7 separate regions of the Homo sapiens genome follow, and regions 1, 2, 3, 4, 5 and 6 are each linked to region 7. Evidence: promoter capture Hi-C in 16 types of primary human blood cells and fetal thymus (Javierre and others, 2016). All regions are on one chromosome and are shown on one strand. The core of a region is centred on a gene start or on the middle of the fragment in contact, and the rest is flanking DNA. Distances in the headings are between cores, read along the strand shown.

Region 1 (3,810 bases), core at 1,022-3,521, 970 kb after region 7:
TCTGTCACCCAGGCTGGAGTACAATGGCGCGATCTCGGCTCACTGCAACCTCTGCCTCCTGGGTTCAAGCGATTCTCCTGCCTCAGCCTCCCGAGTAGCTGGGACTACAGGCATGCACCACCATGCCTGGCTAATTTTTCGTATTTTTAGTAGAGACAGGGTTTCACCATGTTGCTCAAGCTGATCTCAAACTCCTGACCTCATCATCCAACCGCCTTTGACTCCCAAAGTGCTGGGATAACAGGCGTGAGCCACCGCGCCTGGCTATATGTATATTTATATCTAATTTTTTGTGATAACTATCTGCTCCTATCCTTTGCCCATTTTTCTACTGGGTTGTTAGTCTTTTTTTTAATATATTCGCTTGTATGAATATACTTTTATATTCATTTGTATGAATTTATATGTGCATGTATCAACTGTGATATAATACCCACGTATTTATTTTCAATTTATCATTTGTCAAATTTTTGCCATGGAGCTTTTTTTTTTTTTCAGAGATGGAGTCCTGCTTTGTCACCCAAGCTGGAGTACAGTGGCATGATTATAGGTCACTGTAACTTCTAACTCCTGGATTCAAGGATCCTCTCACCTCAGCCTCCCAGGTAGCTGGGACTCCAGATGCACAACCCTGTGCTCAGCTAATTTTAAAATTTTTCATAGAGACAGGGTCTTGCCGTCTTTCCCAGGCTGGTCTCAAACTCCTAGGCTCAAGCAATCCTCTCGCCTTGGCCTCCCAAAGTGCTGGGATTACAGGTGTGAGTCACGGTGACTCGCTGTAATTTTTTTGTTTTTTGAGACGGGGTCTTGCTCTCTTGCCCAGAACGGACTGAAGTGGCTCAATCTTAGTTCACTGCAACCTCTGCCTCCAGGGCTCAAGCAATCCTCCCTTGTCAGCTGGGACTATAGGTATGTGCCATCACACCCAGTTAGAGAATTTTTAATGCTGTCAAATTCATACGAATCTTCTATTTCTTTTGGAGTGTATGTTATAGTTAGGCCTTCCCCACACTAGGATTATTTTAGAAACAAATTCATGACATGTTTGGGAATTTTTATGGCTTCATTTCTTATGTTTAAATCTGATCATCTAGGCTGGGTGTGGTTGTTCACGCTTGTAATTCCAACACTTTGGGAGGCCAAGGCAGAACTGCCTGAGCCCAGGAGTTCTAGACCAGCCTGAGCAACATGGTGAGACTCTACCTCTCCAAAAAATACAATTAGCTGGGCACAGTGTCATGTACCTCTAGTCTGAGTTACTCCAGAGGCTGAGGTGGGAGGACTGCTTGAGCCCAGGAGGTCAAAGCTGCAGTGAGCCACGATGATGCCACTGAACTCCAGCCTAAGTGATAAAGTGAGATCCTATTTCAAGAAAAACCCCAAAAGTTGATCATCTAAAAAGTATTCTGATGTAAAGTGTGAGCTTTAATTACAAACGTATTTTCAGATGGCTACCTAATTGTCCAATTTGAATGCCACCTTTATTACATAATAAATTCCCCTATTTGTGGAGTATAATCTTATACACTAACTTGATTATTCACGTGACACCACACTGTTTTAACTACTGCAACTTTATAGGAGGTTTTAATAAACGGTAGGGCTACTGCCTACCTGCAATTATACTTTTCAGATTTTTTTTAATATTGTTTCTGCTTGCATTTTTTTCTAGGACCTACATTACCTTTTGATATGGTTTGGATTTGTGTCCCCACTCAAATCTCATGTTGAACTGTAATCCCCAATGATGGAGGAGGAGCCTGGTGGCAGTTGACTGGATTATGGGGGCGGATTTCCCCCTTGCTGTTCTTGTGATAATGAGTGAGTTCTCATGATATCTGGTTTGAGATGGAGTCTCACTCTGTTGCCCGGGCTGTGGCGCGACCTTGGTGCAATGCAATCTCTGCCTCCTGGTTCAAGTGATTCTCTTGCCTCAGTCTCTCGAGTAGCTGGGATTACAGGCATATGCCATCACACCCGGCTCATTTTTATATTTTTAGTAGAGATGGGGTTTCGCCATATTGGCCAGGCTGGTCTTGAACTCCTGACCTCAGGTGATCCACCCACCTTGGCCTCCCAAAGTGCTGGGATTACAGGCGTGAGCCACTGCGCCTGGCTGATATCCAGTTGTTTAAAAGTGTGTGGCATCTCCCCCCGCTATCTTTTCCTCCTTCTCCAGCCATGAAAGACGTGCTCACTTCCCCTTCATTTTCGACCGTGATTGTAATTTTCCTGAGGCCTCCCCAGTGGTGCTTCCTGTACAGCCTGTGGAACTGAGTCAATTAAACCTCTTTTCTTTATAAAGTTGGACGTGGTGGCTCGCGCCTGTAATCCCAGCATTTTGGGAGGCTGAGGTGGGTGGATCACTTGAGGTCAGGAGTTTGAGACCAGCCTGCCCAACACAGTGAAACCCCGTCTCTACTGAAAATACAAAAATTAGCCGGGTGTGGGGGTAGGCGCCTGTAATCCCAGTTACTTGGGAAGCTGAGGCAGCAGAATTGCTTGAACCCAGGAGGCGGAGGTTGCAGTGAGCCGAGATCATGCCACCGCACTTCAGCCTGGGTGACAAGAGCAAGACTCCATCTCAAAATAAAAAAATAAAAATAAGAATAAATTACTCGGTCTGGGGTAGTTCTTTATAGCAATGTGCAAACAGATTAATACACCTTTATAGATCTTGACAATGTTTAAATCTATTTTGCAAGAACATGGTAAGTCTTTCTATATGCTAAACTTTTTAAAATTTCTTCAAAGCATTTTAGAGGATTCCTTATATAAAAATCAGAAGCTCCCATACCACATCTATCTGCCTTCAGCACACGTGCCACTAGTACCTTCCTCTACTTAAGAAGTAGATCCCAATGCCTCTCAGACTCAAGCCTCCTGCAAGTCTTCCTTCTCTCATCTGCATCATCAATTGGCTCTCTAATGGCAGTTACACTGGCATATAGTTATTTCTTCTTCTTTTTTTGAGACAGGGTCTCAGTTTGTCACCCAGGCTGGAGTACAGCGGCATGATCACTGCCCACTGCGTCCTCTATCTCCTGGACTCAAGCAATCCTCCTGCCTCCGCCTACCAACTAGCTGGGGCTACAGACGTGCACCACCACACCCAGCTAATTTTTGTGTATTTTGTAGAGACAGGGTCTTGCCATGTTGCCCAGATTTGTCTTGAAATCCTGGACTCAAGTGATCCTCCCGTCTTGGGCTCCCAAAGTGCTGGGATTATGGGCATGCACCACTGAGCCTGGCTATTTCTTCCACCTTAAAAAGAAAACAACCTTCTTTTGACCCTACTTTGCCCCATAACTACAACTCCATTTCTTGGCTCCCCTTTATGGCAAGATTCCTTCAAAAATCGTTGTTTACACTCAATGTCTCCGATTCTTCTCATTTCTTTATGAACCCACACCAGCTTCCACCTCCATCATGCCACCAAAACCCTTATTGTTATGATGACGCCATTGACCTTCATAATGCTCAATCCACTGGCCAATTTTCTATTCTCACCTTTCTTTATCTTAGAGCAGTCCTGGACATAGTTAACCCCTCCTCCCTCTTTGAAATACTTGGCTCTTTGAAATAAGCTCTAGGCTTTCCTCTTCTCTTATAGCTCCTTCTCAGTCTCCTTTGCTGGTTCCTCCTCTAAAGGTGAGCACCTCAAGGTGTTGCTTAGAGCTCTTTTCTTTGGCTGGACGTGGTGGCTCACACCTATAACCCCAACACTTTGGGAGGCCAAGGCAGGAGGATTGCTCAAGTCCAGGAATTTAAGGCCAGTCTGAGCAATGTGGTAAGATCCCCGTATCTACA
Region 2 (3,887 bases), core at 183-2,682, 990 kb after region 7:
AGGTATCACACAAGAGATAGGAGCCAATCCTTTGGTTTCATAAAACTTAGAGGTGAAGGAGAGTATACCCTGAGAGAACAAGCCCAGAACCCATGAAGAGACATATCTTTAGTAAACAGACCAAAACTAACCAACCAACCAACAACAAATCTGCCCTGTAAAGGAAGAGGTCAAGAACACTGGCTTTGTGTCAAGGGGAAACAACATCTCTCCTAAGAATCTGTTCATCAGAGGCTGGTCCTCAAAGTAGGTTTGGGTATAAATTCATATAGCTGGAGGTCTAAGAAACCTCCAGCCAATACACCAACTTAAAGGCATATTGAGTTTGTAAACTCCTAGGCACCTAGCAGACCCAAACATGAACCTTTTCTGGGGTAACAAACCCCTACCCCAAGTTTCTTAGAATTCCTAGAGTCCTAGTAAGTACAAGTTCACAATAAAAATCACAAAACACAAGAAAACCAGGCACCATAAACAACAGCCAACAGAACAATTCACAGATGTTTTGATAGGTTTAATGTGTTTTAAGAAATAAAGAACAAAAAATACAAATACAAAATGACAGACTTGGCTGGGTGTGGTGGCTCACACCTGCAATCCCAGCACTTTGGGAGGCTGAGGTGCTTCAAGACCAGCCTGGGTAACATAGTAGCACCCCATCTCTATTTTTAAAAGTAAAAAAATAAATGACAGACTATTTAAAAAGCTAAAACTTCTAGGAATTGAAAAATTAATTATTAAAACAGAAAATTTAATGGATGGGTAAAACAGATTAGGCAATAGCGGAAGAGATGATTCGTGATCTGGAAAAAAATCTGAAGGAATTACACATAATAAATCACAGAAAGACAAAAAGATGGAAGATAAGGACAGGTTAAGTGACCTATATGCAAAGCAAATGGGAGTTAAGAGAATATAGAGAATGGGGGAGAGGCAATATTCAAAGAGATAATAAACATTTCTTGACCTAACAAAAAGCAAAAAATCTACTAATTCTCAGATTCAGAAGGCACAGTGAATCTCAAGCAGGACAAATAAATGGTAAAGCTCTAGGACACAAAAACCAAAAGGAAGACTATCTTAAAAACAGCCAGAGGATAAAGACAGATTATCTGTAAAGGAATGACAGACTGATATCTGACCTCCTATCCAGCAGTCAGGGAAATAGATGACAATGAAACAATATCTCTGTGCTTAAAGAAACTGTCTAGAACTGTATACCCAGCCGAAGAGTCTTAGAGAAACTAAAGGAGTTTCTAAAGGATATTGTTTTAGGAAGAAAGAAAATGATTCCAAAAGAGAGGTCTCAGATGTAAAAAGAACTGGGGAGAGCAAAGAAACAGTTAAACGTGTTAGTAAATGAAACAAATACTGACCATATAAAAGCATAATAACGCCTAATTGTAAGATGTTAAAAGATAATGAAAATACTAGACAAAATCACATAAGCTGAGTATGTTGATGAGTGGAGAGAGGGAGCAGGGCTAGTTGTGATCATTAAAGTATTTTAGGCTGGGCTCAGTGGCTCACGCCCGTAATCCCAGCACTTTGGGAGGCCAAGGCGGGTGGATCACCTGAGGTCGGGAGTTCAAGACCAGCCTGGCCAACACTGAGAAACCCCATCTCTACTAAAAATACAAAATTAGCCAGGGGTGGTGGCGCATGCCTGTAATCCCAGCTACTTGGGAGGCTGAGGCAGAAAGAATCACTTGAACCTGGGAGGCAGAGGTTGCAGTGAGCTGAGATCATGCCACTACACTCCAGCCTGCGCAACAAGAGCGAAATCCTGCTTCAAAAAAAAAAAAAGTTTTCTAAGGTTCTTGTTTTATTCGAGGTAGATTAAAATTCTGATTAACTTCAGATTTTAAGTTATGATACACATTAAATTTACTTAAATGTATATATTTTTGGCTATATTAGGTATTTTATAAAGGCTTTTTTTTAATAAAAAAGAAGTAATGATGTTTATAATGCTTCACTGGCAATTTACCTTACTACATGATAAGAGTACATACTGAGGTGGTAGTCCACAGTACAGTTTCATGCATTAAAGACCACAATAATCCAGTAAGAGGTATTTGTTACAAGGTTTTAATAAAAGGCTCATGATATTACAAACTCACACACAAACCAAGCAATGCCTGTATATATAACAAATCAAAATAGAGCTAGTTAGCTGGAGACAGGAGAGAGGGTTAAAGGGTTCAGGACCCTCTTGTCTTGCCTGCTCAGAAAAAAAGTTATGAGGAAAATTTTAAGGAAAGAAAAAGGTTAATTTAACTTAAAATCTAGAAAACTTGGCAGAAATCACATATGTACGTATTAGGCTACTAAAATATTTCTTACTAACTACAAATACTAATCAAGCATTTCTTACCTACTGTGGAGCTACCATTTTCATATTGAGAGAGCAGATCTTCATCAGCTTGCTCATGCTTTTCACTAGGAGCAAAGTCTTTCTTAGAGAAGCTGCTGTTCTTCTTTTTTAAAAGAGCTGCTTTACTTTCAGGCTTATGTGAAACTGGAATTTCCACTGGCTGGTAATTAGCATGGATATATGGTTCTTCAGAAAGCATATAACCTTTACTGAAACACTCTAGCAACCACTTTGCTCCCACTACATGAGGCCTACAAAAATAGCACATAGTTATGTATTAGTGCAAGCTATAAAGACCATCATCCCACTTGTCATGCAGTTTCCAGAACTGCGTGGATATGCAATTTTAAGAAAAATTATGTAGTAGAAATTGCTTTGAATTAAAAACGAAAAAAACCTGTGGGCTGATTTATTCCAAAACTGCTTCAATTCATCATCATAATCTCCCACAATAACATGAGTTACATCTTCATTTAGCTGGTTAAAACGAACTCCACCTCCACTGTTAATAAGTCTTCTCAGTTTATCTAGCTTTCTGCCACTAAAACCGCAAAGATATATCTGCAAGAAAGAAAATATTTAATATACATAACATGCTTTCTCTCAATAGAAAAAAACTAAAAATATATATCTAAATCCACTGTGTATAAATAAGACAACTTGTGTACATTTAAGATATATGAATAAATACATTCTGAAACTTTTGATTTTTTAACAGTTCTGCAACTTTGAGTTTTTAATCACTCTTTACAATCTCATACAGCATTATCTTTCACAGTAGATACTTGATAAGTATTTTGTGGCTATAAAGAAAATAGAAGCCAGAGTCCAACATCTTCTAAATATTAGTGCATACCAATTCCTAAAATGCAGGTAACTTCTTTAACTGTGAAGCTTACTTGTAAATTTTAAAGTAATTATAAAAGTAAACTGTAGTTAACTGTCTGAATTCTGAACACCTGGGCTTAAATTGTGTGTGTGTGGGGGGCGGGGGGAGGGGTTGTTTTTTCCAGCTGCCTATGATTAACGACAATAGGCAAGTTGCTTACGCTCTTTAAATCAATTTTCTTACCTATAAATTGATGTTACCTTACTCACAGAGTTGACTGAACAAAAAATATATATAAGTCAAAGAACTGAACACAATGCTTTGAGGATAACATGTATGCAGTAATTTATTTTTAGCTATCAGTATATATATATTTAAACCAATTTAATCAATATAAAATCATTTTACCTCTATTTTACATAAGGTGCCCTTAAAAAAATTTAAGTATGACAAATCTACTCCAAACTGCATTTATACCCCAAATTAAATCACCCCCATTACTAGAATATATTTTAACAAATATTTGGAATCATATACTTTCTATATGTAAGAAATAATTAAAAGCTATATCTAGAATTAGTAGTCTAGGATAAAACATCATACAAAACACCTCTGAGCCAGGTGTGGTGGCTCATGCCTGTAATCCCAACACTCTGGGAGGCCAAGGTGGGCAGACTGCTT
Region 3 (3,747 bases), core at 899-3,398, 930 kb after region 7:
CAGCCTTTAACTCCTGGGATCAAGGAATCCTCCCGCTTCAGCCTGCTGAGTAGCTGGGATTAATGTGTGTGCTACCAAGCACTATTTTGTTTTTTAAGAGATGGGGTCTTGCTATGTTGCCCAGGCTGTTCTCAAGCTTCCTGGTCTCAAGCAGTCCTCCTCTGCGTCCCAAAGTGCTGGAATGTTTTACAGCCACTTTGGGAGCCACTACACCTGGCCAAAAGTCACCTTTTGAAGTGTACAATTTAAGAATTTCTTATATTCTCAAAGTTATGCAACCATCACCACTCTTAAAATTCTTGAACATTTTCATCACCCCAAAAAGAAATTCTATTGTTATTAGTCATCATTTTCTTCTTTCCTCCCAAATTCCTCAGTCCTAGGCAGCCACTATTGTATTGTCTCTAGTTTCTTTTTTCTGTTTTTTTTTTTTTTTTTTTTTTGAGACAGTCTTGCTGTCACCCAGGCTGGAGTGCAGTGGCACATTGTCAGCTCAATGCACCCTCCGCCTCCCGGATTCAAGTGATTCTCCTGCCTCAGCCTCCCCGAGTAGCTGGGATTACAGGCACCCACCACCACGACTGGCTAATTTTTGAATTTTTAATAGAGATGGGGTTTCACCATATTGGCCAGGCTGGTCTCAAACTCCAGACCTCAGGTGATCCACCCGCTTTGGCCTCCCAAAGTGCTGGGATTACAGCTGCATGAGCCACCGTGCCCGGCCTAGATTTTCTCATTCTGGTCATTTCATATAAACAGGGTTATACAATTTGTTTTTCAGAGACTGGCTTCTACACTTGTTTTTGAGCATGTTTTTGAGGCTTAGCATGTATCAGTGCTTCGTTTTTATTGCTAAACAATATAGGTAATTGTATGGGTATACCACGTTTAAATTGTACATTCATCTGTTGGACATTGGGGTTGTTTCATTATTATGAATGATGTTGCTATGAACTTTCATGTACAAGTTTTTGTATCAACATTTCCAATTCTCTTGGGTATATACTTAGAGATGAAAGGCTGTATCACTTTGAGGAACTGCCAAACTCTTCTAAAGTAGCCTCACCATATTATATATTACTATTCCCACCAGCAGTGTCAGAGGATTCCAGTTTCTCCAATATCCTTGTGATCACTTGTTTCAGATTGGTTCTAGTCTTCCGAGTGGGTGTGAAGTATCTCATTATGGTTTTATTTTGCATTCCTATAATGACTAGTGATGTTGAGCATCTTTAAATGTGCTTACTGGCCATCTGTATGTCTTTGGAAAAATGTGTATTCAAATCCTCTGCCAATTTCTAAATTGGTTTACTTATAATTTTATTGTTGAGTTGCAAGTGTTTTAAATTTCAGGTGCTACTTCTTTGTCAGATACATGAATTGTAAACATTTTCTCCTACCATTTTTCCCTTTCTTAGAAGTGTCTTTTGGAGTACAAAATTTTCAATTTTGATGAAGTCCACCTTTTCTATTCTTTAGTTGCTTGTGCTTGGGTGTTATATCTAAGAAAACATTGCCTAACCCAAGTCATAAAGATTTATGCCTATTTTCTTCTAAGAGTTTTATGTTTTTAGCTCTTTCATTTAGGTCTTTGGTCTATTTTAATTTTTTTTATTGTGACTTAGGGCTCCAGCTTCATTCTTCTGCATGTGACTACCAGTTGCTCAGCACCAAGACTCATAGTTTTTGGGGGATTTTTTGGTGGTTGTTTTTGAGACAGCATCACCCAGGCTGGAGTGCAGTAGTGTGATCATAGTTCACCGCAGCCTTGGCCTGGGCTCAAATGATCCTCCCCGCCTCAGCCTCTCAAGTAGCTGGGACTAAAATGCGTGCCACCACACCCAGCTAACTTTTTTTATTTTTAGTAGAGATGAGGTCTTGCTATGTTGCCCAAGCTAATCTCAAAACTCCTGAGCTCAGGTTATCCTCCTACCTCAGCCTCGCGAAGTGCTGGGATTACAGGTGTGAACCACCATGCCTGGCTTGTAGTTCTTACTCTTTATTTAGCACACTAAACATTTTGGTTGTTTATCTCCCTCTGTTAGAATGTGAAATTGGTCTGGGGTAGGTACACGTAGGTGGAGATGTCAGGAGGTTAAGAGTGTGGGGTAGGAATTTAGGACAGGTCATGCTATGGGTGTCTAGACTGACAAAGGAACAAATGAGGTCACGATTTCAAGTTAGGGAGTGCAAACAAATTAATGGAGGTAGTCAGATCAGAAGGAGAGCCAAGAAGTTAGAAAGTCATATGGACAGGTGTTCTAATAACTAGCATCCTGAAACTGCAGGTTTGTAATGGTTTTAATTCACCAGTTACTACAACTAGGTACTAATGGGGCCTGCAGAATGCAGGCAAGTTATGAATTGCTTCTCCTGGGCTTGAAATAAAGATAATGAATATTATGAGTGATATATTGAGTAAGAAATAATTGCTTATTTTATCTTTTTGACACAGTTTCACTCTGTCACCCAGGCTGGAGTGCAGTGACACGATCCCAGCTCACCACAACCTCTGCCTCCCAGGTTCAAACAATTCTTATGCCTCAGGCTCCCCAGTAGCTGGGATTACAGGCGCATGCCACCACGCCCGGCTAATTTTTTTTTTTTTTTTTTGTATTAGTGGAGACAGGGTTTCCCCATGTTGTCCAGGCTGGTCTTGAACTTCTGACCTCAAGTAATCTGCCCACCTCGGCCTCCCAAATTGCTGGGATTACAGGTGTGAGCCATCACACCTGGCCTTAGAAATAATTGCTTTAAATAATCTTATTTGTATTATCTAAAATAGGAATTATGTTCACATCAGGAATTTAGGATATACATAAAAGTAATCATTAAGGCAGTTCAATTCTTTTGAATTTGCAGCCCAAGTGGGAACTAGAATTCTAAATAATTGGATATAGTAATACAGACGATGGGTAGGATTTAAGTCATCCACTTTAAAAGTCTTTTTAATCCCTCAACCTAACTGTTCAGGGATCCAGTCAAAGCATGCCCCAAGAAACCTCTGTAAAATGGTTCATCTCCAAATATGATGGAGAGTAGCACCCAGCCTTCGCAATTTTAATCATAAGAAGTGGAGCAACTCTGTAAGATTATGTCCATGGTTCTCAAACTGCTGCATTTTGGAATAACCTGGGAATCATTAAAAAAAAAAAAAAAAAAAAAAAACTCGCTGGGTGCGGTGGCTCACGCCTGTAATCCCTGCACTTTAGGAGGCCGAGGTGGGCGGATCACCTGAGGTCAGGAGTTCAAGACCAGCCTGGCCAACACAGTGAAACCCCATCTCTACTAAAAATACAAAAATTAGCCGGGCACGGTGGTGGACGCCTGTAGTCCCAGCTACTCAGGAGGCTGAGGCAGGAGAATCACTCGAACCCGGGAGGCGGAGCTTGCAGTGAGCCGAGATGGTACCATTGCACTCCAGCCTGGGCTACAGATCAAGACTCCGTCTCAAAAAAAAAAAAAGTGATGCCCGACTCCCACATCCAGACATTCTGAATTAATTAGTATGGAGTGTGACCCGAGCAGAGGAATGTTTTTTCAAGTCCCATAGTTCTAATGTGCAGCAAAATCTGGGAACCACTGGGTTATGTCAAAAAATGATAAATTATTTCCCTAGTAGGCAGTTGGAAGACAACCATAGGGCTAGCTCAAGCAGGAAATCCCTTAAATTGCATGCTTAGACCAGAAATGATTATCATATTCCTAAATGCATTTTTGGATACTGTTAAATGAGGGAAAGTGGAT
Region 4 (3,715 bases), core at 164-2,663, 950 kb after region 7:
ATACTAGCTACCTATATTCTAAAATTATCCAAATTCTGCCACCTTTTTTTGCTTAACTACTTAATTTTATTCTGTTTTAATTTTAATTTTTTTGAGACAGGTTCTCACTCTGTCACCCAGACTGGAGTGCAGTGGCATGATCTTGGCTCACCACAACCTCCAGCTCAAGCGATTCTCCTCCCTCAGCCTCGCAAGTAGCTGGGATTACAGGCACACACCACTATGGCCTGGCTAATTTTTGTATTTTTAGTAAACACAGGGTTTCACCATGTTGGCCAGGCTGGTCTTGAACTCCTGACCTCAAATGATCCACCTGCCTCAGCCTCCCGAAGTGCTGGGATTACAGGCGTGAGCCACCATGCCTGGTCCTGCTTAACTATTTTAAAGCAAATTCTAGATACCATGTTACTGACCCCTAAGTATTTCAGTATGCATCTCTAGAATATATGGAAATTTTCTTAAACAGCCATAATGCCATTATCAGATCTAATAGGATTAACAAAGATTCTTTGCTGTCTCAGTACTAAATCCTTGTTCAATTTTTCCTGTTTGTCTTCACTTGGATTGTTATAATTAGGATACAAAAAGAAATAGAACATAAACATGAGCCACACGCTGTAGTTGGTTATGTCTCTTAAGTCTCAATTACAAAAGCAGTTTTCAAGCACCGAATATGGGTAACCAGGGAGATGGAAGTAAGATAGGGGCATCTGCAGACTTTAAAACAGGAGGAAATTTTTTATGAGTGGAAATAATGTCGGCAGACCAACAGAGAAGCTTGGGAAGAAAACACACACAGATAAATAAGAGATGAAGCAGCAGGTGGGAAAAAGCAATAATTGAACCTCTTCTCAGATATAAATGCATGAAGCCTGACTTTGAGGAAAGAAGAAGGCATAAGTAAACATAAGCTTATGTAAAGCATGGCTGTTGATTTATAGCTTAGAGGTTAACTTGACCACTGGTTGGGCAGAGTTAGTTATATCAAGGACTTTTTTTTTTTTTTTTTTTGAGACGGAGTCTCACTCTGTCACCCAGGCTGGAGTGCAGGAGTGCAGTGGCGCGATCTCGACTCACTGCAACCTCTGCTTCCCGGGTTCAAGCAATTCTCTGCCTCAGCCTTCTGAGTAGCTGGGATTACAGGTGCCCGCCACCACACCTGGCTAATTTTTGTATTTTTAGTAGAGACGGGGTTTCACCATGTTTGCCAGGCTGGTCTTGAACTCCTGACCTCATGATCTGCCCACCTCAGCCTCTCAAAGTTCTGGGATTACAGGTGTGAGCCACCACACCCGGTCATATCAAGGACTTTCTAAGATTTTAACAAAACATTCAAACTCATGATTTAAGATGACTCTAATAATAATAGCAGCAACACCTTCTGAGCATTTATTTTATGCCAGGAACTACTTAAAGTGCTCCAGATTACTAACTCATTTAATTCTCACAACCATATGAAGGAAGGTTACTATTATTATCTGCATTTATGCACATGAAAACTGGTAGAGCACCTTACTCAGGATCACAGAGTGACAAAAAGACAAGAAGGTAAAATTCCATATTAATATATAAACATCAATTTCCAATTCTACATAACAAACTTATTCTGCGACCCAGACAACATAATAGACTGATTTATATACATATATATCAGTTGGCCACAGTTGCTTCATTTATAAAATGAAGGATTGGGCATAATATCTATTATAATGTCTCTTTGCATTCTAATATTGGAAAACCTCTAGAGTTACAAGACTCTGAATTCCAACATAATCTGTACTCATCTGCCTCTGCTTCCTGCCCTCTTCTAGATCAATTCTCTGCTAATTGCTGTCACTCTTCCCCAAAGTTTGCAGAGATGGAAAAATCTATAGGAGACTGACACTTGAAGCCTTTCATTTTCATGAGTTCTGGGTAAAGCTTAGCAATTCTGACTTATAACCTCACCTAAGTTATCAGGGAACTGGGAAACAAAGTGTTTTGTATGAGTAAAGTTTCTAAGAAGAAACAGTTTTTCCACACCGGGGCCTGTCCTGGGGTGGGGGGAGGGGGGAGGGATAGCATTAGGAGATATACCTAATGAAAATGACAAGTTAATGGGAGCAGCACACCAACATGGCACATGGATACAAATGTAACAAACCTGTAGGTTGTGCACATGTACCTTAGAACTTAGAGTATAATAATAATAATAAAAAAATAAAAAAAAATAAAGCTGTGAGCTTCACCCGCAAAAAAAAGAGAAAGTTTTTCCAAGTATACAACTGTATTTGACATAAATCTTTTTTTTTTTTTTAAAGCATATCATAGTTTTCCACATTCTTAAAAAGACAGCATTAAATAACATTTAATCTTTTCCTGATACTTCAGGGCCACTATTAAGAACCATTATTTTGGCCAGGTGCGGTGGCTCATGCCTGTAATCCCAGCACTTTGGGAGGCCAAGGTAGGTGGATCATCTGAGGTCAGCAGTTCGAGACCAGCCTGGCCAACATGGTGAAACCCTGTCTTTACTAAAAATACAAAAATACAAAATTAGCCAGGCGTGGTGGCGCACACCTGTAATCCCAGTTACTTGGGAAGCTGAGGCAGAAGAATTGCTTGAGCCCAGGAGGCAGAGGTTGCAGTGAGCTGAGATTGTGCCATGGCACTCAAGCCTGGGAGACAGAGCAAGACTCTGTCTCAAAACAAAAACAAAAAAACCCCACCAATATTTCTTAATGTTTTCTCTTTCCATGCTGAGCTGCCAGATTAACTTCTCTTACTATAGTTTTCCTAACTCTATAGAGCTTTGTTCAACAGAGTAGCCACTAGACATCTGTGGCTATCAAACACCTGAAGCACAGTTAGTCCAAATTGAGATGTGCTGTAAGTTAAATAAACACTAGATTTTTACTTTATATAAAAAAAAACTCACTGATATTTTATCTGATCACATATTGAATGATAAATATATGTTTAAAGTTCATTTCACTTGTTTCATTTTACTTTTTATTTTTGAGATGGGGTCTCACTATGTTGCCAGGCTGGTCTTGAATTCCTAGGCTCAAGCAATCCTCCTACCTCAGCCCCCCAAAGTCTGGGATTACAGGTGTGAGCCAATGCACCCAGCCTCTTTTTAGTTTTTAAAATGCAGCTACTAGAGAATTTAAAATGACCTATGTGGTTCACATTCTGTTTCTATTGGACAGTGCTGCTCTAGTATACCAGATTGCTCTTTTACTATGCTGCTTCTAGAATGATGTCAGGTGGAGAGCCTGACAACCAGTGGAATAAGAATAATGTTACATAAGAAGGAGCTCTCTTCCACACTGAATTCTTTCTTTTCCCTTTTTTTTTTTTTTTGAGACAGAGTCTTGCTTTGTCACCCAGCCTGGAGTACAGTGGCGCTATCTTGGCTCATTGCAACCTCCGCCTCCCAGGTTCAAGCGATTCTCTTGCCTCAGCCTCCTGAGTAACTAGGATCACAGGCATGTGCCTCTACGTCTCGCAAATTTTTTTGTATTTTTAGTAGAGACAGGGTTTCACCATGTTGGCCAGCCTAGTCTTAAACTCCTGACCCCAGGTGATCCGCCCACCTCAGCCTCCCAAAGTGCTGAGATTACAGGCACGAGCCACCGTGCCTGGCCTCCACACTGTTTCTAACTGGAAACAAACAAACAAAAAAACAAGAGGGAGCTCCTCTCTAGATATTATTAACCTTTCAAGTTCATTA
Region 5 (3,942 bases), core at 990-3,489, 850 kb after region 7:
GCAGAATCCCCACACTAGTTCCCCAACCTGTGGAGTGAAGGCTATTATTGTAGGAAAGGCCAAATGAATGCCATTTGAGCTGCGTGTACCTAGGAAAATAATACATCAAAGCAATACTGCATCCCTGAGGGGATTGCAGATATTAGTGCCACTGTCAAGGACTTGAAAGATGCAGGTATAATTATTCCCACCACATCTGCATTCAACTCTCCTAATTGTCCTGTGTAGAAGACAGAAGGATCTTGGAGAATGACAATGGATTATCATAAGGTTAACCAAGTGGAAACTCCAGCTGCACCTGCTGTATCAGATGTGGTTTCATTGCTTGAGCAAATCAATACTTCTCCTGGTACCTGGTATGCAGCTCTTGATATGGCAAATGCCTTTTCTCTATACCTGTTCATAAGGTCCACTAGAAGGAGTTTGCTTTCATAAACCAAATAAGCTCATGAACAAAATGGCCATGGTGGCAGGGATGGAGGTTATTCATGGGCTGAACAACATGGACTTCCACTCACCAAGGCCAACCTGGCCATCGCCACTTTGAGACTGAGTACTCAAACTGCCAGCAGCAGAAACCAACACTGAGCCTCTGATATGGCATCATTCCCAGGGATGCTCAGCCAGCTACCCAGTGGCAAGTTGATTAACAGCTTCCAATCATGAAAGGGGCAGTGTTTTTTTCTTATTTCAACAGGCAGTTACTCTAGATATGGTTTTTTTTTTTGTTTTTTTTTTTTTTTTGATACAGATCTCACTCTGTCACCCAGGCTGGAGTGCAGTGGCACGATCTTGGCTCACTGCAAGGTCTGCCTCCTGGGTTCAAATGATTCTCATGCCTCAGCCTCCCAAGTAGCTAGGATTACAGACATACACCACCATGCCTGGCTAATTTTTTATTTTTAGTAGAGATGGGGTTTTGCCATGTTGGCCAGGCTGGTCTCAAACTCCTGACCTCACGTGATCCTCCTGCCTTAGCCTCCCAAAGTGCTGGGATTACAGGTGTGAGCCATGGCACCCAGCCTGGATATGGATTTTTACCTTCTCTGCACATAATTCTTCTGCTGTAACTACCACCTGTAGACTTAAAGAATGTCTTATCTACCATCATGGTATTCCATACAGCATTGCTTTTGACCAAGGAACACACTTCACAGCCAAAGTACAGCAATGGGCTCATGCTCCTGGAATTCACTGGTCTTTCCATGTTCCCTACCATCCTGAAGCAGCTGGCTTGATAGAATGATGGGATGGCCTTTTGAAGACACGGTTATAGTATGATAGGTGATAATACTTCGTAGGGGCAAGATTCTCCAGAAGACTGTATAAGCTCTGAATCAGCATCTAATACACGGTACTGTTTCTCCCATTGCCAGGATGTAGAGGTCCAGGAATCAAGGGGTGGAAATGGGAGTGGCACCACACACCATGACCCCTAATGACCTACTAGCACAATTGTTGCTTCCTTTTCCCATGGCTTTATGCCCGGCTGCCATAGAGGTCTTATTTCCAGAGGGAAGAATGCTTTCACTAGCAGACACAACAATGATTCCATTGAACTGGAAGTTGAGACTCGCACCTAGCCACTTTGGGCTCCGCACACCTCTGAGTCAGGGGAGTTATGGTGTTGGCTGGAGTGATTGATCTGGACTACCAAGGAGAAATTGGACTACTACTCCACAATGGAGGTAAGGAGGTAAGTATTTCTGAAATACAGGCAATTCCTTGGGCCATCTCTTAATATTACCATGCCCTGTGGTTAAGGTCAATGGGGAACTATGATAACCCAATCTAGCCAGGACTATGAATGGCCCAGAGCCTTCAGGAATAAGTTTTGAGTCATCACATTAGGTAAAGAATCAAGCCGAACTGCTTGCTAGAAGCAAAGAGAATACAGGATGGATGGTAGAAGATGATAGTTATAAATACCATCTAAGACCCTATGACCAGTTACAGAAATGAGAGCCGTAATTGCCATGAGTATTTCCTCCCTCTTTTGTCAAATGTGAGCTAGTTTAACAAAAGGAGGAGGTTTGGGCACATACCAGGGTTTCCTGGAACCAGGCAATAGGGTCTCCTGTGGCCTGGGGCCCAGACATATTTATTTTATTTCCTCTCTTATTATTGTATCAGGTAACATAAAATATATTGACTTTATATCAGCAGTTAAGTATCGTTAATTTTACATTATTTAACTTATGGGATATCGGGAGAAGAGTAAACATCACTCAAAGACTTTACCTCCTCTTCTGGGGAAGGAACTGGTGCACTTTTATTGCGTGTAGGATAGTTGTATCATGTTAGGTGGAACTATGGCTTTAAGAAGATGGGTAAATGTGGCTGGGCGTGGTGGCTCACGCCTGTAATCCCAGCACATTGGGAGGCCAAGGGGGGCGGATCACGAGGCAGGAGTTTGAGACCACCTGGCCAGTGTGGTGAAACTCTGTCTCTACTAAAAATACAAAAATTAGCCGGTCGTGGTGGTGCATGCCTGTAGTCCCAGCTACTCAGAAGGCTGAGGCAGAAGAATAGCTTGAACCCAGGAGGCAGAGGTTGCAGTAAGCTGAGATCATGGCACTATACTCCACCCTAGGTGACAGAGCAAGACTCCATCTCAAAAAAAAAAAAAGATGGGTAAGTGTGCCAAGTTGACAAGGTGTGAACTTTTGATGATTAGTTTTAGGTGTTAATGTGACTGGATTAAGGGATACCCAGATAGCCAATAAAGCATTATTTCTGGATCTGTCTGTAAGAATATTTCTGGAAAAGACTGGCACTTGAATCAGTAGACTGAGTAAGGAAGATCAGCCCTCACCCAATGTGCAAGCACCAACCAGTTGGTTGAGGGCCCAAATAGAAAAAAAAGGCAGAGGAAGGACAATTTGCTCTCTCTCTTCTGGAGGTGGGACACCCATCTTCTCCTGCCCTTGGACATCAGAACTCTAGGTTCTCTGGCCTTTGGACTCCAGGCCTTATACCAGCAGCTCCCCAGGTTCTCAGGCCTTCAGCCTCTGACTGAGAGTTACACCATCGGGTCTCCTTGTTCTCAGCCTCTGACTTTAGACGAAGCCATGCTATCAGTTTCTTTGGTTCACCAGCTCACAGATGGCATACCGTGGGACTACTCAGCCTTGTGATGACATAAGCAAATTCCCTCATAAATCCCGTCTCATAGATCTCTATCTAACTCCTACCTACCTATGTACCTATATCCTACTGGTGCTCTGGAGAAGCATGATTAACAGGTGGACACCTGACTCCAGAGGGTCAGTCCGAATTTTTTCTCCCAAGAATGTGGATTTGATCCTAAAATGAATGAGTCAGTTTCTGCTGGTTGCTTCACTCATAGACGGGCCAGCTCAAGATCTGCAAGTGGGCCTTTCCTCCACAGGGGTAGGGAAGTCTAGAAGTCTGCTCTACAGGAGAGGCAGGAACCTGACACGCAGGCAGAGGAGAGATAGATGTCACAGCTTTGAGGAGTCAGAGGAAAGCTCTGCCTTCCTTTCCAGATTCTGTCCAGCTCCGGGTCCCAGGCCTCAGGAGACCCTATTGCCTGGTTCCAGGAAACCTTGGTATGTGCCCAAACCTCCTTCTTTTATTAAACTAGCTCACATTTGACTAGGACCCACGTTGCTCCTCTTATACCCCAAGTGTATCCTTCAAGTCTGAGCACAAATGCCCCCTGCTTGGAGAAGCCCTCACTCACTTTCAGGAAAAGTAAGCCATTTTCTGCCCAAGACCCAAAACTACCAAATTCATCCTATACTACCATATTCACAACATACTACCACAATCACCCTATATGACTACCTTCATGCTATGCTACCACAGCCATCACCCAATGCTACCACACTCACCCTGTGCTGCCAGTCACCCTATGTTACCACATTCATCCTGGACTACCCCAGTCAACTAGACTACCACATTCACCTTATGCTATCA
Region 6 (3,680 bases), core at 1,181-3,680, 910 kb after region 7:
GCCCTCAACTACTGTTCCTTCTGTGTATTTTCTCAAGTCATTAATTCTTTCAAGACAATGATGAATTGATAAGGACTTAAGAAAGATATAAATAACTGAAACTTATTTATATCTAGATCTTCTCTTCTAGATTATAAGGGAATTGAATGCAGGAATCACAAATTACTCACTTTTGAATAAAGCACTTTGCCCGAAATATAGCAAAATAAGTGCTTCATAGATGAGGAAAGAAAGAGAGGGAGAGGGCCGGGCATGGTGGCTCACACCTGTAATTCCAGCACTTTGGGAGGCTGAGGTGGGTGGATCACGAGGGTCAGGAGTTTGAGACCAGCCTGGCCAACATGGTGAAACCCCGTCTCTACTAAAAATACAAAAATTAGCTGGGTGTGGTGGCGGGTGCCTGTAATCCCAGCTACTCAGGAGGCTAAGGCAGGAGAATCGCTTGATCCTGGGAGGCAGAGGTTGCAGCGAGCTGACATGCCATTGCACTCCAGCCTGGTGACAAGAGCAAGACTTTGCCTCAAAAAATAAGTAAGTAAATAAATAAATAAATAAATGAAAGAGAGGGAGGGAGGAAGGAAGAAAGAGGGGGGAGGAAGAAAAGAAGGAAAGAAAAGAGGAAGGGAGAAAAAAGAAGGAAAGAAAAAAAAGAAAGAAAATAAATTTGATTAGCGATGGTAAGGGAGGGTGATGGTGATGGGCAGTACTGAACCTGGCCTGCATCACAGGAAGATATATGTTGTCATAGAAGGAAGTCACCTTGGGAGCTGTTCATGTTTGGGGAATAGTATATGTATAAGCTCAAGCTACTTGCTGGCCAAGGCTAGGTCCTTGATTTCTTTTGACATTCAGAAGTTAGACTTTTTTTTTTTTTTTGAGACGGAGTTTCACTGTTGTTGCCCAGGCTGGATTGCAATGAGGCGATCTCGGCTTACTGCAACCTCCGCACCCCCGGGTTCAAGCAATTCTCCAGCCTCAACCTGTAGCTGGGATTACAGGCGTTAGCCACTACGCCCGGCTAATTTTCGTGTTTTTAGTAGAGACGGGGTTTCATTATTTTGGTGAGGCTGGTCTCGAACTCCTGACCTCAGGTGATGCGCCTGCCTCGGCCTCCTGAAGTGCTGGGATTACAGGCGTGAGCCACCGCGCCCAGCCAGAAGTTAATTCTTTAATAGCAGTGTAAGTAGGGGGTAGGAAAAGAGAAACTTTAATGGGGTAACTGTAAAGGAAAAGACGAAGAAGTCTCTCCATTTACTGGCTGGATTCTATCTACCCCATATGGCTACCAACATTTGTCTGAGTCATTTCCTCAATGGTTGTGACAGCTCCCTCTTCTGCTTTTAGAAGGAGGAAGTAGAAAGTTTAAGAGCTTACTTTAGACCACCTTTTGCATATAGAATTCATTTCATTTTCAAGGCCCCAAGGGTATTTAAATGGGCTTTAAACCCATTTAAACCTGGCTTTCGCCTGGGCATTTTGGTCTCCACCCCTATGATAAGACAGTCCCCTCCTTTTATCAGGGATAGAAGCTAAGGATAAACTGTATCATCATCTAGACTCAAGTCAGGGCGTTAAGCAATGTGCTGAGCAGCTAATAATGTTGACTCTCTTCCCTCCATCCCCCTATCTTGTAAGAAATAGTATACCCACTTTACAGATTAGGGACTTGACGATAGGATTTATTGAACTTGACCTTGGTAAACATAATCCAGAGGGTGGAGTTCAGACAAAATCCCTTTCTACCTACCAACCAGCCTATGAAAGATCTTTTAGTAAATGGGACCTAAACTTCAGGCTCACTGCTCCTCTCACTTTCACAATCAACCGGTAAAGAAGAAAAGTAATGGTTGCCACTCCAGAGGGGGTGGAAGTACAGAAGCGATCAGAGGAGAGGAACAATCTTTAACACAGTTGGCTTAACGCAGTGCCTGTCCGTTTCGCGACAGTTCAAACGACTACTATGGGGCCACGGTTTGTTCTGGGCCAGGAAACACACGTGCATCCTGCGCATGCGTCCAAAAGGAACCCACTGCCCCTCCTGCTGGACCTCTTTAGCCAAGTCATCAACCAGCCCTCAACATGCCCGCCCTCAAGACTAAACCCTCGGCCAATCGGGAAACCGGAGTCGCCCGGCACGTCACTTATTTTGCATATGCCCTCCTCTCCCCGCCCCCATGCTTGGACTCCGCCCCGTCTGGGTCAGGGATTGTCACCTAAGAGCTTCGTCCTGGCACCTGATTGGCTCTCTTTCCAGCTCCGCCTCCATCTCCTCCCGCCGCCCGCCCCTTGGCGATCCCACAGCGGCAGGCAGAGCAAAATACGCAGGCGCAGGCGCTTCCTCTCTCTTCTAGCGGCCCGCCCTCCCTCCTCCCTCTCCCTCCCCTCCCCACTCCCTTCCCCTCCTCTCCAGGCCTGCGCGCGCGCCTCTTCCTCCGGCACGCGCCGCTGCTAGCCGAGCACTCTCGCCAGAACCTCTGGCTCGCGCGTGCCTTTTCCCCTCAGGTTGTGGGGAGAGCGGAATCCTGCTCCGCCGTCGCAGCAGCAGCGGCAGCCCCGGCAGCCTCGGGCGACAGCGGCGGCGCGCGAGCCCCCGGGCGGACCGTACCACCGCTCGCCAGCACGCAGGGGGAGCCGCCCGTCTCGCCGCGCACGCCTCGGCGACCCCGCGGGGCTGAGGCGTCGCCGCGCCCGGCAGCGTGAGCGCAGAGCCGGCCTCGACCCCGAGCTCGGAGCCCCGCGGGCCGCGCCCGCCGCCGGCCCCACCCATCCGGGTCGAGGAGGCCGAGGCCATGGCTGAGACGGAGGAGCGGAGCCTGGACAACTTCTTTGCCAAGAGGGACAAGAAGAAGAAGAAGGAGCGGAGCAACCGGGCGGCGAGTGCCGCGGGCGCAGCGGGCAGCGCCGGCGGAAGCAGTGGAGCCGCGGGTGCGGCGGGCGGCGGGGCGGGCGCGGGGACCCGGCCGGGTGACGGCGGGACCGCCAGCGCGGGGGCTGCGGGCCCAGGGGCCGCCACCAAGGCTGTGACGAAGGTGAGGGGCCGGGAGGCCGGCACTCGGGGCCCGGGCCGCGCGCCGGCGCCCCATGTGCCCGCCCCCGCCTGCCGGGGAAGCGTCCGGGAGGGGCCGCGGAGGCCGGGCGGACGGGCGCGGGCCGCCACGTGACGCAGGCTCTCCACCTCGGGCTGGGCTCGCCAGGGCCGGGACCCCTTCCGATATCCGCGGTGGAGCCGCCCTTCCCACCCCGCGTCGCTCGGCGTTAGCCAAGGCCCGGGCGGCGCCACCCTCCGGGGGCACTAGGTCTGGGGCCGCAGTGCCCAGCACAGAGCAGCGTTTATCGGGTGACGTCTAGGCTGAGTAATTCCGTGTGCTGACCTCAGCCCAGTAGTTTGAGCTGAATTTTCGCTTTCAGCAGCCGCATTTGTAGCAGCTCTTTTGTGATGACTTAGTCTCTAAGCCCGTGAAAGAAAAAGAAAACTCTCGGTGGCAAGGTTGAAGTAGAAATGTAGTTGTGAAATTCCTATTGACTTCTTCCTTCGGCTTTTCTTAGTTGCTTAAAGTAACAGCTCCCATGCAGGAACCCAGCGGAAGTATAGTGTTAGCCTACGAGCATGTTTGTCCTCCATTTAGCCTAGTTTGCCCCAGAACGAAGCAAGGGCTTTGACCAGAAGACAAGTACATACT
Region 7 (4,029 bases), core at 1,222-3,721:
TATCTCTGTGCTAATATCATACCATCTTAACTCAAATTTCCCACCTTGTGGTTCTTTAAAAATGTTTCTGCTATCCTTAGCCCTTCGCTCTTACACATAAAATTTAGGAGCACTTTTTCAAATTAGAGAAAAAAATTAGGATTTTGATTGTCATTGCTTTGAATCAATAGATCAACTGGAAGAAAAAAGTTTGCAATATTGAATATTCCTATTCAACAACATGGCATCTCTCAATTTTTAAAATTCTTTTTAAGGTCCTAATAAAAGTTTTATCATTTCTCTACAAAGGTATTGCACATCTTTTACTTAGGTAATTTATATTTTTGATGCTCCTGTAAGTTTTTGAAAATTACATTTTAACTGTTGCTAAAGTAGAGAAATGCAGTTGATTTCTGTACACTGAACTTTGATAGTCTTTTACTGTCTATGTAGATTATTGGCTCTTTAATCCATGAATCACTTAATTTATAAACATGTATTTGTTAGCTATCTTCTGTTAAACTTTTGGTATTAAAAAAACACATATTCCTTTTTTTTTTTTTTTTTTTTGAGTCTCACTCTGTCACCTAGGCTGGAGCATGGTGGTGCAATCTTGGCTCACTGCAACCTCCCTCTCCTGGTTCAAGCGATTCTCCTGCCTCAGCATCCCAAGTAGCTGGGACTACAGGCACGTGCCACCACGCCCGGCTAATTTTTGTATCTTTAGTAGAGATGGGGGTTTCACCATGTTGGCCAGGCTGGTCTTGAACTCCTGACCTCAAGTGATCCACGTGCCTCGGCCTCCCAAAGTGCTGGGATTACAAGTGTGAGTCACTGCACCTGGCCAAAACACACATTTTCAAAATATAAAGATTGATTCTTTTGAGTTTCTGAGACTTCCTTCATGGCCTATGTGTTTTCAATTTTTATAAACTTTTTCATGTGTCCTAGAAATGAATGTGTGTTCTCTGTGGGATCCAGAGTTCCATATATATTTATTAAACCAAGCTTATACAACATTTCTGGAAGCAATTTTTATACCACAACTAATTTACAACTAATTTCATTTTTTGAACACGGTTATGGTTTAACATTCAGCTTGGTTCAGAATTAAGTATCTTTCAGTTATGTACCTCTTCAACACTCCTACAATATGAACGTTACTATCTCCTTTTTGCCAAAGCAGGACTAGATGTTCAAAGGGTAACTTGTCCAAATTCCACAGCAATTGAAATAGTTGAAATTTGAACTTTGATCTGTTTCAGTTTGTTACAACACAAGGCTTCTAGCCTAGAAATCTCAGCTATTCTTTATTCCACCTTTCCCTTCATCTTCCAATATCTATTGGGACATGGGACCTTTAAATTCTACACCCTAAAATGTTCCCTGATCCATCTCATTTATTATTATTTTCATTTTCACCAAAATCAGTAGTCAAAGAATATAAATGCTAGTGATAAAATACCACTAGCACACTATGTTGTTGCAATTTTTACGCCCTTTCACCTATATTACGGTATTTCATTTCATTAATAAGACTAATCAAAATAGGTATTACAACTTAGGAAACTAGTTCTCAGAGTGTTTATGTAACATATTTAAACTCCCAGACAGCAAGTGACAGATCCAGTTTTCTGAATGATAGGACTCTTTCTGTAGCCCTGTATTAGTAACAATGTTATTTTTAGAATAAAGTTTTAAGAATGTATTATCTATTGTAAAACATCAGACTAAAGCCAGATTCCCGGTGGGGAACGCTACTCTCAGGATCCTCTCACTCAGTTCCATTACCTCACTTCAAAAAACCTGAGGCCCAAAGTGGTGCTGTGACCTCCTAAGTGGAAAAGCTAGTACTCGAATTCGGATCCTCCATCTGGTGTCATTAACTCAGCCTCCCGGAATACGGCCAATCAAACGGAATTACACCAGCTTCTCAGAAAAAGATCTAATGGCTGTATCACAAAAGAAGGCATCTATTTCTCAGAATTTGTAGCCTTAATTGCCTTGGTGAATCCTCAAGGGACATAAATCCATCCTTTAACAAAGATTCCTTTGGATAGTAGAATGGTGAACGTTATTGCGCTTCCATTACCGCCCTCCAATTGGGAAGCCCCCAGCATCGAATTCGGAGGGCCGGCAATAGCAGCTCATGCCTGTAGGGTGCGTCCACTGACTGCAGGAAAAGCAATCAGGGTGGGAGAAACTTAGGAAACCACCCAGGGCCAAAGGAAGGAAAACTCAATGTACAAATTTTTTTCCGCTGGAGGCAAAGGCTGACATCCATACCTGTACTGGGCAATGGTCAGCGTAGCCTCACGTTCGGCCCCAAAGCCAGACAAGTGCTGGTTTAGGTAGGCCTCCAGGGACTTGCTGTCGAACTTGTGCTGGGGCAGCACTTCGGCCAAATCGGACTCGCCAGTAGCACCTGGCTTCATGATCACCCCCGCAGGCCACAGCAACGCGGCATCCACAGGTCTCGAGTGCCGAAGTCCTTCAGGATTGGGGCAACGTCCCCTCTAGAGCATGGGCCGAGGCCGGGGTGGGGTCTGGCTCCAGCCAACCGCACACAGCCTACGCGCCGTTGCTGAGCAACGCTTGCCCGCTGAATCCCGAGGTTTTAGCTCTAGTCAAGTGCCAAAAGAGCCCAATGTGTGTTCGGGTTTCAATTCTCCAGTCAGCGTCAGAGTTGGAGGCCTCAATTTTAAAGAAGGCAAAGCCATGGTCATCGTTGCGGGTAAGGAACAACGCAGAAGCCTCTTCCACCCCCAAATTTAATGCAACAGCAGGCGGAAGACCTGCAGGGTCCCGTTCAGAAAAAGGGCCGTCAGACTGTCGAGCCTAAGAATAAAAAGACCCTGTTTCTCTTAGATACCCGGTTAGCAAGGCAACATCGCTGGCCTCCTGCCCTGGACACTTATCACCCCGGTGCTGCTGCGGCCGGGTTTAGCCGGCCCAGCGAGGAAGGAAGCCGAAAGAGCCAGGTTTTTGATGAGGGGGAGCGATGTCTGCGACGCACCGGAAGCGGCTCCGAGGAAGGCCTGTGGGAGTCTCGGAGACGTGTCTGTCTGTGAGGCGCTGGGTGCACGTCCCCAGGGCTCTGGGCTAGGAAGGCAGCGGCGAGGTGCCTCCCCACGTACCCCTCGCGGGCCCAGCCGAGCAACGTGGGGCGAAGGCGGCGGCGAAGGCCCGGGCTGGGAGCGTTGGCGGCCGGAGTCCCAGCCATGGCGGAGTCTGTGGAGCGCCTGCAGCAGCGGGTCCAGGAGCTGGAGCGGGAACTTGCCCAGGAGAGGAGTCTGCAGGTCCCGAGGAGCGGCGACGGAGGGGGCGGCCGGGTCCGCATCGAGAAGATGAGCTCAGAGGTGGTGGATTCGAATCCCTACAGGTAACCTGCGTCGCCGGTCGGAGGCAGGCGCGGGGGACGAGGTCAGGCTCCGTGAGGTCAGAAGTGAGGCGCTTCCCACGTCCCGCTCATGGGGACGCCCGCCACCCTTTTCTTGGTCTGCGAATCCTGTTCCCAAATGGGCAAGGCCACATCTTAGTACTGATCGGAAGATATTCTTTCTCTTTTTTAAAAACCTCCAGTGAGTCAGCCATATGGTGCTGCTCCTGTGCCTGCTGAGGACGTGTGTCCAGTTTCCTATCACCCTTGCCTCTTAATTAGTCCGCCTCGCTGTGTATAAGACTGATAGTAAGAACTTTCAGAAGATGAGATCAAATATTAAACCTGCTAAGGTAAACTTTGAGTTTCATTAAAGGCTTATCAATGCATCTTAAATGGGGTCGGGGCGGGGGAGAGCGGGGTTAGCTCTATTCTGAGATATTCGGGTGCTCCTTAACATCTCAAACCATTCGACATTACCAAGACTGCCCAGGCCTCTCTTTTCTTCTTTCCTAACAAAGCTTATCAATTCAGCAGATGGAATATAGTGCAATGGTTAAGGGTAAGGACTCTACCGCCAGACTGATTGCAATTCAAATCTAACTACTCTCTTCGTAACTGCCTAACCTTTGGCAAGTTGTGAAACTTTCCGCTTCAGCTTCTCACCTGTA

Evidence for each region. The method cuts DNA at HindIII sites, captures the fragments that hold promoters and counts their contacts. A CHiCAGO score of 5 or more calls a contact.
Region 1: a contact is called between a fragment that was not itself captured here and the fragment with the promoter of ACAD11 in region 7, in 6 of 17 cell types (naive CD8 T cells, total CD8 T cells, neutrophils and 3 more). The highest score is 6.2, in naive CD8 T cells.
Region 2: a fragment that was not itself captured here is called in contact with the fragment with the promoter of ACAD11 in region 7 in 5 of 17 cell types (total B cells, total CD4 T cells, M1 macrophages and 2 more); the score reaches 7.8 in total B cells.
Region 3: a fragment that was not itself captured here is called in contact with the fragment with the promoter of ACAD11 in region 7 in 8 of 17 cell types (non-activated CD4 T cells, naive CD8 T cells, activated CD4 T cells and 5 more); the score reaches 9.1 in non-activated CD4 T cells.
Region 4: a fragment that was not itself captured here is called in contact with the fragment with the promoter of ACAD11 in region 7 in 4 of 17 cell types (M1 macrophages, total B cells, erythroblasts and 1 more); the score reaches 7.7 in M1 macrophages.
Region 5: a fragment that was not itself captured here is called in contact with the fragment with the promoter of ACAD11 in region 7 in 1 of 17 cell types (M1 macrophages); the score reaches 5.2 in M1 macrophages.
Region 6: the fragment with the promoter of CDV3 here is called in contact with the fragment with the promoter of ACAD11 in region 7 in 13 of 17 cell types (total CD8 T cells, naive CD4 T cells, naive CD8 T cells and 10 more); the score reaches 15.1 in total CD8 T cells.

What each region holds. Positions count from the first base shown.
Region 1 is chr3:133,629,820-133,633,629 of GRCh38, forward strand. The region is part of intron 14 of TOPBP1 (DNA topoisomerase II binding protein 1); the gene reads right to left. Among named protein-coding and RNA genes, the nearest start is that of TOPBP1, 30 kb to the right of the region's middle. The HindIII fragment of the contact is 5,525 bases long and covers 1-3,810 here.
Region 2 is chr3:133,647,006-133,650,892 of GRCh38, forward strand. It overlaps TOPBP1 (DNA topoisomerase II binding protein 1), which reads right to left. Exons shown (of 28, transcript NM_007027.4): 9 at 2,775-2,938; 10 at 2,378-2,628. Among named protein-coding and RNA genes, the nearest start is that of TOPBP1, 13 kb to the right of the region's middle. The HindIII fragment of the contact is 3,674 bases long and covers 1-3,269 here.
Region 3 is chr3:133,591,290-133,595,036 of GRCh38, forward strand. No RefSeq gene overlaps it. Among named protein-coding and RNA genes, the nearest start is that of CDV3, 19 kb to the left of the region's middle. The HindIII fragment of the contact is 4,028 bases long and covers 135-3,747 here.
Region 4 is chr3:133,612,793-133,616,507 of GRCh38, forward strand. The region is part of intron 23 of TOPBP1 (DNA topoisomerase II binding protein 1); the gene reads right to left. Among named protein-coding and RNA genes, the nearest start is that of CDV3, 41 kb to the left of the region's middle. The HindIII fragment of the contact is 1,009 bases long and covers 910-1,918 here.
Region 5 is chr3:133,511,447-133,515,388 of GRCh38, forward strand. No RefSeq gene overlaps it. Among named protein-coding and RNA genes, the nearest start is that of BFSP2-AS1, 22 kb to the left of the region's middle. The HindIII fragment of the contact is 7,656 bases long and covers 1-3,942 here.
Region 6 is chr3:133,571,256-133,574,935 of GRCh38, forward strand. It overlaps CDV3 (CDV3 homolog), which reads left to right and starts at 2,431. Exons shown (of 5, transcript NM_017548.5): 1 at 2,431-3,029. The coding sequence starts at 2,790. RefSeq lists enhancers at 1,420-1,659, 1,602-2,103, 1,760-1,929 and silencers at 2,310-2,849, 2,870-2,979, 3,010-3,399. The HindIII fragment of the contact is 11,859 bases long and covers 1-3,680 here.
Region 7 is chr3:132,657,338-132,661,366 of GRCh38, forward strand. It overlaps ACAD11 (acyl-CoA dehydrogenase family member 11), which reads right to left and starts at 2,472. Exons shown (of 20, transcript NM_032169.5): 1 at 2,266-2,472. The coding sequence starts at 2,414. UBA5 (ubiquitin like modifier activating enzyme 5) reads left to right here and starts at 2,992. Exons shown (of 12, transcript NM_024818.6): 1 at 2,992-3,361. The coding sequence starts at 3,201. All of the region lies in intron 26 of NPHP3-ACAD11 (NPHP3-ACAD11 readthrough (NMD candidate)), which reads right to left. RefSeq lists enhancers at 2,774-3,312, 2,848-2,937, 3,308-3,587. The HindIII fragment of the contact is 2,892 bases long and covers 986-3,877 here.